2 separate regions of the Homo sapiens genome follow, and region 1 is linked to region 2. Evidence: promoter capture Hi-C in 16 types of primary human blood cells and fetal thymus (Javierre and others, 2016). All regions are on one chromosome and are shown on one strand. The core of a region is centred on a gene start or on the middle of the fragment in contact, and the rest is flanking DNA. Distances in the headings are between cores, read along the strand shown.

What was found. Contacts are between HindIII fragments. The CHiCAGO score rates a contact against its expected background, and 5 or more counts as called.
Region 1: a fragment that was not itself captured here is called in contact with the fragment with the promoter of RAD54L in region 2 in 1 of 17 cell types (monocytes); the score reaches 5.3 in monocytes.

The regions. Positions count from the first base shown.
Region 1 is chr1:44,981,652-44,986,601 of GRCh38, reverse strand. It overlaps EIF2B3 (eukaryotic translation initiation factor 2B subunit gamma), which reads left to right and starts at 7. Exons shown (of 12, transcript NM_020365.5): 1 at 7-109. RefSeq lists enhancers at 1-5, 1-233. The HindIII fragment of the contact is 4,485 bases long and covers 794-4,950 here.
Region 2 is chr1:46,244,962-46,249,904 of GRCh38, reverse strand. It overlaps RAD54L (RAD54 like), which reads right to left and starts at 2,142. Exons shown (of 18, transcript NM_003579.4): 1 at 1,497-2,142; 2 at 1,307-1,393. The coding sequence starts at 1,499. RefSeq lists a silencer at 2,322-2,581. The HindIII fragment of the contact is 28,355 bases long and covers 212-4,943 here.

The DNA of each region.
Region 1 (4,950 bases), core at 1,787-4,286, 1.3 Mb after region 2:
TCAGTCAGAGGCGGCGTGGAGATCGCTGGGAGCGGTTGCGGCGTGCCGGGAGCTGAGTTATAGCTGTGACTTCTGCCCTGCCAGGCCGCACACAAGCTGGCTGACCCGGGTGAGCAGTGCGGTGGGGCCACTCATCTGAGGGAGGCGGGCATGTCGAACTGGGCCGAGGTGGACCCGAAGGGGTAGGAGAGGGTGCTGAGCCCCGAAGTTGTCAGCTCGACTCCCTGCTCGACCCGGTGTAGCTGTGTCCGAAGTAGAAGGGAGGTTGGGGATGAGAATCCGAGCCAACCACCTTATGCAACAGATGGAGGAACTAAGTTTCTAATCTCAGCTACTCGAGAGTCTGAGGCAGGAGAATCGTTTGAACCCAGGAGGTGGAGGTTGCAGTGAGCCTAATTCGCGCCACTGCACTCCAGCCTGGGCAACATAGTGAGACTCTCCGTTTCAAAAAAAAAAAAAAAAAGAAAAGAAAAGAAAGAAACGAAGTTTCGGGGAGGGTTCTGCTTAAAGTCACAGCGAGTGAGCGAGCACCAGACCGGTACCAGACGCCTTTAGCACTGTGCCTGCACTCTTTCAGCCTCAGCCCTTCATTCATTTGTTCAGCCTGCCTTTAGTTGTTTGGATGCAGGGCAGTGAAATATAGGGAGGAGCAGTGAGGTCTCTGCCTTCAGGCAGCACACGTGGAATGACAGACCAATTCTGATACAGTTTTCTTATCTATTTACAACTGGAAAAGGCATGAGTGCTATGATGCAGGCAAGTCTGAGATGCGGTGAACACCCTCTCCAAAGCTTGGGAGGCAGCGAGACTCGTTGCCATGATTCCCGTCAGCCATAGTCGTGGCAGTGACATGAGCATTTGACAGTCTGCCTGGTAGCATGATTAGTTATGTTCATGATTACTATTCATGCTTCCTAGGTTGCCTTTCTTCACCCAGGGCCTCCTTGAGAGCTGGAACCTCAGTTCCTAGTGACCTGGGTTCTAATGCCCTTATGCACATGTTTGAGTTTGACTCTTATACAGTTGTGAAGTTCACAGGTCCTCATTCCACTTTGATTTCTGGCATCTGACTGGGAATACAGTGATGATGCACACACAGTCCAAGAAAGTCACTCTTACACTCTTATGTAGACATTTAAGAGACATTAATGTTACACTTAAGTAGACATTTAAACACATACGTGCAATGAAACCCGTAAAGGCTAAGAGAATCTGCACATGGCAGAATGGAAGCACTTCGGGAAAAGGAGTCACTTCTGGAGGGGTGGGAACGGTTAGGAATGGCTTTGTAGGCAAGAGGATTCTTGAGCTGTCTTCAAAGTTTAATAGGTGATTACTAGACACAAGAGAAAGGCAGACTAGGAAGCAACAGTAGCAGTGCAGAGACCAGAATTATGAAGCAGCATGGCTCAATTAGTACGAAGGTTTTCCATAATCTAGTCTCTGTCTAGTAAAGCAAATACAAATATAGTGCTTCTCATAAGATGGACATTATTGGCCGGGCGCGGTGGCTCACGCCTGTAATCCCAGCACTTTGGGAGGCCGAGGCGGGTGGATCATGAGGTCAGGAGATCGAGACCATCCTGGCTAACAAGGTGAAACCCCGTCTCTACTAAAAATACAAAAAATTAGCCGGGCGCGGTGGCGGGTGCCTGTAGTCCCAGCTACTCGGGAGGCTGAGGCAGGAGAATGGCGTGAACCCGGGAAGCGGAGCTTGCAGTGAGCCGAGATTGCGCCACTGCAGTCCGCAGTCCGGCCTGGGCGACAGAGCGAGACTCCGTCTCAAAAAAAAAAAAAAAAAAAAGATGGACATTATTTTGTCTGCTTTACGTAGAATAACAAATTTAATCTTAACAACAACTCTGTGAAGTGAAACTATAATTATCCCCATCATAAAATGCAAAAATTGAGGCATAGAAAATTTACGTAGTTTGCCCTAGTTCACACAGCTAATAATAAATAGTAGAGCTAGAATTCAAACCTAGGCATTCTAGCTCTATGGTCTGTGAACCTAACCACCAGGCTTCCTTCTAGAAGCTGAGGACACTGAGAGTTTTAAATGTCAGGCCCCTGATCACACCTATGAGTGTCAGAATCATGACTCAAACTCATCTTTTGACTTTTTTTTTTTGGGACAGGGTCTCACTCTGTTGCCCAGGCTGGAGTGCAGTGGTGTGCAGCCTTAACCTCCCAGGCTCAGGTGATTCTCCCACCTCAGCCTCCCGAGTATCTGGGACTACAGGCATGCGCCACCATACCTGGCTAATTTTTTATAGAGATGGGGTCTCACCATGTTGCCCAGGCTGTTCTAGAATTCCTAGGCTCAAGTGATCCTCTCATCTTGGCCTCCCAAAGTGCTGGGAGCATGAGCCACTGTGCCTGGCGCTCTTTTGGCTCTTTTTTATTTTATTTTATTTTTTTTGAGACGGAGTCTCACTCTGTCGCCCAGGCTGAAGTGCGAGTGGTGTGCTCTCAGCTCACTGCAGCTGCTGCCTCCCGGGTTCCTGTGATTCTCCTGCCTCAGCCACCTGAGTAGCTGGGATTACGGGTGCCTGACACCATGCCTGGCTACTTTTAAAAATGTTTTTGGTAGAGGCCGGGCGCAGTGGCTCATGCCTGAAATCCCAGCACTTTAGGAGGCCAAGGCAGGTGGATCACCTAAGGTTAGGAGTTCAAGACCAGCCTGGCCAACATGGTGAAACCCTGTCTCTACTAAAAATCCAAAGAATTAGCCAAGTATGGTGGCGGATGCCTGTAATCCCAGCAACTTGGGAGGCTGAGGCAGGAGAATCGCTTGAACCTGGGAGGCAGAGGTTGCAGTGAGCCAAGATCATGCCATTGCACTCAACCTGGGGAACAAGAACTCTGTTTCAAAAAAAAAAATTTTTTTTTAGTAGAGACAGAGTTTCACCAAGTTGGCCAGGCTGCTCTTGAACTCCTGACCTCAGGTGATCCGCCCGCCTGGGCCTCCCAAAGTGCTGGGATTACAGGCGTGAGCCACCACGTCCAGCTCATCTTTTGACTCTTAAGGGTCCAGTGCTCTTTTCATAATAACATTTGATGTGGTGGATGTTATATAATACCAAAATGAAATTAAATTACACTTTGAGGCAATGCTTGCTAGAATCTACATGACCATATCTTTACATTGTGAATGTTATGCAGGAGCCTTCACTTTGTGCCTTGGGTATAGTAGGTGTTAAGTGCTGCACTTTAGATGTTGATGTGCTGGGCCCAGGAGTAATAATAATTATAGTAAAGTTGCAACATTATTTGGCAATTTGATGTTGAATAGATTGTTTCTTCTGAACGTTACATTTTAACACATTTGTTCTTAAAATTACATCATTGTAAGAGAAAGTACTTTCAGTTTAAATCAGTAAAGATCGGTCAGGTGCAGTGGCTCATGCCTCTAATCTCAGCACTTTGGGAGGCCCAGGCAGGAGGCCTGAGGCCAGGAGTTTGAGACCAGCCTGGGCAGCATAGTGAAACCCCATCTCTATAAAAAATTAATTAAAAGAATTAGCCAGGCGGCCAGGTGCAGTGGCTCATACCTGTAATCCCAGCACTTTGGGAGGCCAAGGTGGGCAGATCACCTGAGGTTGGGAGTTCGAGACCAGCCTGACCAATGTGGAGAAACCCTGTCTCTACTAAAAATACAAAATTAGCTGGGCAGCTGGGCGTGGTGGTGCATGCCTATAATCCCAGCTCTTTGGGAGGCTGAGGCAGGAGAATCACTTGAACCTGGGAGGCAGAGGTTGTGGTGAGCTGAGATCGTGCCACTGCACTTCAGCCTGGGCAACAAGAGAGAAACTCCGTCTCAAAAAAAAAAAAAAAGCCAGGCATGGTGGTACCCACCTGTAGTCCCAGCTGCTCCAGAGGTTGGGGCAGGAGGATTGCTTTAGTGCAGGAGGTTGAGGCTGCAGTGAGCCATGATCTTACCACTGCACTTCCAGACTGGGCAATGGAGCAAGACTCTGTCTCTAAATAAACAATAAATAAATAGGATGGGCACGTGGCTCACACCTGTAATCCCAGCACTTTGGGAGGCCGACTCCGGTGGATCACCTGAGGTCAGGAGTTTGGGACCAGCCTGGCCAACATGGTGAAACCCCATCTCTACTAAAAATACAAAATTAGCCAGGCATGGTGGCCCATGCCTGTGATCCCAGCTACTCGGGAGGCTGAGGCAGGAGAATCGCTTGAACTTGGGAGGTGGAGGTTGCAGTGAGCCGAGATCACGGCATTGCACTCCAGCCTGGCAACAAGAGTGAAATTCCATCTCCAAAAATAAATACATAAATAAAGATTTATGACCTTCTACTGTGCCTCTGTTCTGTGGTAGTTTCTGTAAAGAGATTCTTTTCAAAGTCAAATAGGTTTGTTTATTACCTTGAGTTTGAAAAAAGGAATTAACAGTTTGGTTTGTTTTTATAATTGTGTTCTGTAAATCTAGGTTCAGATACAAGCCTACGTTTGTGTTTATAGTGATATCTTTAAAAATTGGAGGAATAAGATGAGCCGATGGCTGAATTATTGGAGGAGTCTTAAGTCATTTCATACTTTTCAGAAGCCTAACATGCTTGTGTTTCTGCTGTTAATTCTAGTCAGGCATCTTTTAATATTTTCTTTTTTCTCTCTTTTTTTTTTTTTTTTTTTGAGACAGGATCTCACTCTGTCACACAGGTTGGAGTGCAGTGGTCCAATCTCAATCTCGGCTCACTGCAACACCTGCCTCCCAGGCTCAAATGATCCTCCCACTTCAGCTTCCCAAGTAGCTGGAACCATAGGCACAAGCCACCACCCCTGGCTAATTTTTTGTATTTTTGGTAGAGATGGGGTCTCGCCATGTTGCCCAGGCTGGTCTCGAACTCCTGAGCTCATGTGATCCACACACCTCAGCCTCCCAAAGTGCTGGGATTACAGATGTGAGCCACCTCACCCAGCCTA
Region 2 (4,943 bases), core at 893-3,392:
TGTGCTAAATTCTTCACACATGTCATAGTGTATCATCTTCATAGCAACTCTATTATGTAGAGTTATTATCCTTATTTAAGAGGTGAGAAAACTAGAGCTTAATGAGATTAAATAACCTGCCTAAACTGAGCGGGGCAATGGAAGAGGTAAATAAAATGGGCCTCTGAAGAGCAAGTCTACCAACAGCATGGAGTCCTGGTGGCCCAAAGCTTCACTCCAAAAGCTCCATGGAATGATGGAGCAACCAAACATTTCGCTGAGTTTCCAAGAGGCAAGAATACAGCTGCCTTCAACTCCCAGGCCACTGAGGCCACTCCCCACTCAGGCCACCCATGGCTGTGAGGACACTGGCACTAAAAGCATCTTCAGAAGCAACCAGCAACTGACAGCAGACCCAGATGCAGAGAATGCTGCCCCAAGTTCAAGTCTGAGACCCATGTACATGGCAAGGGTCAGCCAATGTGCCTCCTTCACAGGTAGAGAAGCCCCTTGCACACCACGGTACAACTATTGAGCAAGCCCCATCAAGCCATTAGGCAAGAACACACTTGTACCAGCTTGCCAGGATATTTGAAGCCTCAGTGATCCTGTAAGACACACCTGAAACAAACACCAGCACCCCTACCCCACACCTTATTCACACACTGCTCCTGCCAAAAAGTGCCTTCTAGTCCTTGCGTAGCTGATCCCTTCCTTCAAAGTTCCAGTGGCCAAGCCCCCACTTCTTGAACTGCTCTTATTCTCTGAAGTCCATGCTGCACTGTCCTATTTATTTTGGTTTACATAGGTCCTGCCCACAGCCAGCCCCAACAAGCCTCCAAAACAGGAAGCAGAGCCCAGGGCCCAACCTAAAGTAGAATATACTGTACTTGAGTATGAGCAAGGACTGGAAGGACACAACCTGTCAGATCTAGGCCCAAGTGAGCCCAGGACTCCAAGGTAGGCCCAGAACACTCTACTGTTCTGTGACACTGGGCAGGGGACAAAGAGCAAAAGAGCCAGCTGCTAATTGCTGTTGTGTAGCCCTTTTTTCCAAGCAGAGTCAAAAGGTCCAATCCAACTGGCTCTTTTGCTTATCTTTTCCCACCAGGAAAACTGAGGCTATATTAGCTTCTAGTGACTACCCTGAGGATAAAGATTTTACTAATCTTGTTCAATGCCTGGCACATAGTAAGTACTCACTAAAAGTTTATTGAACATACAAAAGAGGCATCTGGAATTGGCTATGTAACCCTAGAAACCAAATCCTGGCTTCTTTTCTGTCCAAACAGCTCTACCCACCTTCCCTGTCCCCTTGAGTGCTCACCACTAGGCCAGGTTGCCAGTCTTCATCATCACAGGACCTGCCTTCAGGTTTTCTCTTGGCCAGCTGGCTGGGAGCCAAGCTCCTCCTCTGTAAAGGGAGAACAGAAACAGTGCCTGCAAGGATCCTGCAGCCTAGGCCTACTAGACCCTGACCCAGGGCTATTCCCAGTCTCCCCTAGGCCCACACTTACCATCCTGGGCCTAGGAGTTTAAAACGTCAAGTACCCATGAGCCAAAGGTCAAAAGCAGGCAGCGGCTAAGAGTGTAGGACCAGGGTCTAATCTGTAGAGGGGGCTGCTACATTATTGAGAGGACCGGCTAATTAAAGAGGGGGCATGGATGGCGGGAATCCATCCAGGAACTGGTGTTTGGAACCAAACTGTGAGAGTGGCCGTCCCCAATAAGCCGAGACGAGAGATTAGGCCAAAGAGGAAGAGACCAAGCAGAGATTAGTGTGGGATTGGGGAGGAGGCAGGTGGAGTCCCAGACTGGGCGGAGTGGAGTGGGGATGATGGTCCCAGTCCGGGTGAAGGGAGGAGGTAGTTGCGCGGCGGGGCGGGGTGGGATTGGGGGTGGGTAATCACTGGCCAGGAGAGAGAAGCTGGGGTGAAAGTCCGAGGCCCGGGTGGGGAGGGCGAGTCTGGAGAAAGGAAATTTCCCAGGGCTGGAGGTGGAAACCAGGATCAGACTCAGGGAGGTCGAGCAGGAAGCCACGCGGGCGTGTAAAAAACCCAGGTTAGGAGGGGAATACCAGGAGGGGCTGAAAAGAGCGACAGAGATAGACGCAGACCCCAGCACCTCTCTCTCAACCTTCCTGTTCCCAAAGCGCGCGTTAACAGCCGCCAAGACTCACCGACCCGCCAAGACCGGGTCAATCGAACCTCCCGCCGCGCTGCCGTCGTATCACCCATTGGCTGCGTTCGATGAGTTCGGCGCTCGCGACCCAAGGAAGAGGCGGGAATAGTGCTGCGCCCAATGAGGAGTCTGGGCTCTGGAGCTGGAGAAGCTAAATTGACCTACTAGGAGGCGTGACTTAGATGGGAGGGCGGGGCCAACAGAGGTGGGCGGTTGGGCGAGAAGAGAGGGGCGGGGCGGGGGCGGGGGTGGCGGGGGAGGGGCGGGGCCAACAGCGAGGAGCAGTTGGGCGAGAAGAGCGGGGCGGGGCGAGAAGAGCTGGACGGGGCGGGGAGGGGCGGGGCCAACAGTGGGGAGCGGTTGGGCTAGAGGAGCGGGGCAGGGCTAGAAGAGCTGGACTGGACGCGACGGAGCGGGGAGGGGAGGGGCGGAATTACTACCTGCGAGCTGGAATTCGGCCCGTCTCGGGTGTTTGTCCCAGGTCGGTGAGCTGTGGTCCCGCAGCTATGGAAGGGAAGATTTACGCCACATTGAGCAGCAGGGGAGTTACCACCTGTAGTGGACAGCTGGGGATTATGAAAGGCGGCACATTTCTGGGAGTTTGGATTGAATCTACAGTGGTACCAGGTCTAGAGCGGAGGGCCGGGGTTGGAGTCAGGCCTCGCCCACCCAGAAAGTGGGGAGAGGCATTCGGCCCAGACTGCCACGTGGCGGGCTCGGGCAATGGGAGCCCCCGGATGACGCGACTTTCTCGCTCAGGGGTGTCTTGAAAGAAGCTGCCTTCCTCTCCAAGGCCAAACCGCGTTGGAGGAAGCGTTGTGTTTGGAGTCAGAGATTTAATCATCCAATCTCTCAAAACGTCAGTTTCTTCATATCTAAAGTGGCATTATAATAGTACCTCCCCCCCATGGCTATTCTGACAAGTAAATTAATGTGCGTAAAGCACCCAACAGTGGCATGCACAACCTAGGTACTCACTAATAATGATAAGGGTGTATTTATAGCATTTACCACCAGGCATTTCTGAGCTTCTAAGATATAACAGTTCATGTAATGCTCATGACTATGAGGTAGGTTTATTTTTGTCCCCATTTTGTAAGTGAGGAAACAGGCCTAGATAGGCTAGTAACTTGTACAAGGTCACACACCTGAGTATAGCTTAAGCCATCCTCACAGGGTTATCAAGAATTCTGAGGTCAGGCATGGTGGCTCACACCTGTAATTCCAGCACTTTGGGAGGCCGAGGCAGGAGGATTGCTTGAGCCCAGGACTTCCAGATCAGCCTGGGCAACACGGAGAAACCCCATATCTACAAAAAAATTAGCCAGGCATGGTGGTGCACAGCTGTAGTCCTAGCTATTGCAGACGCTGAGCTTGGAAGCATCGCTTGAGCCTGGAAGGTCAAGCTGCAGTGAGCCAAGATCGCGCCACTGCACTCCAACCTGGACGACAGAGCAAGACCCTATCTCAAAACAAAGAATTCTGGGCCGGGCGCGGTGGCTTACGCCTGTAATCCCAGCACTTTGGGAGGCCGAGACGGGCGGATCACAAGGTCAGGAGATCGAGACCATCCTGGCTAACACGTGAAACCCCGTCTCTACTAAAAATACAAAAAATTAGCCGGGAGCGTTGGCGGGCGCCTGTAGTCCCAGCTACTCGGGAGGCTGAGGCAGGAGAATGGCGTGAACCCGGGAGGCGGAGCTTGCAGTGAGCTAAGATCGTGCCACTGCACTCCAGCCTGGGCGATAGAGCGAGACTCCGTCCCAAAAAAAAAAAAAAAGAATTCTGGAGAGAAATATCGTTTTAATTAAGTATTAATCGGTTGGGAGGCTGTGGCCAGCGGATCACTTTAGGTCAGGAGTTCGAGAACAGCCTGGCCAACATGGTGAAACCCCGTCTCTACTAAAAGCACAAAAATTAGACGGGCGTGGTGGCAGGCGCCTGTAATCCCAGCTACTCATGAGGCTGAGGCAGGAGAGTCGCTTGAACTCAGGAGGGGAGGTTGCAGTGAGCCGAGATCGCACCACTGCACTCCAGCCGGAACGACAGAGCGAGACTCCATTTCAAAAATAATAAATAAATATTTCTGGTTCTAGTTTCCAGTAATAGCAAATAAATGTAGTCAGATTAACCCTCCCACAAATAACAATTACAAACTCTAGGGAAAAAAATATTTTGAAAAACCAATTATTCCAGGGCACTGGACAGTGGCCAAATTTAAGCAGGCTCCAGAAGGAAGTCTACCTACCCTTAAAGAACAACTGCAACTGGTGAGATTAGAAAAGCTGTGGCCTCTTACTTAGGGCATTCCCCAATCTGCAAGGAACTCTTGGGTGACACAGAGTTACTACCTGTGTGGGAACTCTGGTGGGAAGACACAGCTTTACTACCTTGAGGTGTCAGGAAACAGAGTTTGAGGCAGGTCAGGGAACAGAGTTTGAGGCAGGCAGAGCAACCAAAAAGTTACAGGAGAAATCCTAAAAAGGAGAGTATTGCAGAGGGGGTGAGCCCCAACATTTGGGTAAGACAAGTCCTCCCAATTCCTTGGTTGACTGCTTACGTATACATGTGTAGGGGTAACAAGAAACCCAGCAAAAAAAGAAAAAAAAAAAAAAGCAGCAGCTAGAAGGTAGAACTGGGTGAAGATTTTGGCTTCTGCCCTCTGCTGGAGATGATTGATTTGGAATTAAAAATCTAGCCAAATTAGCTGCCTGCCAGAACAAAAGCTGTTCTTCAGAGAAAAATTCTGCAAAGGGCATAAGAAAAAATTTTTGAGACAGAGT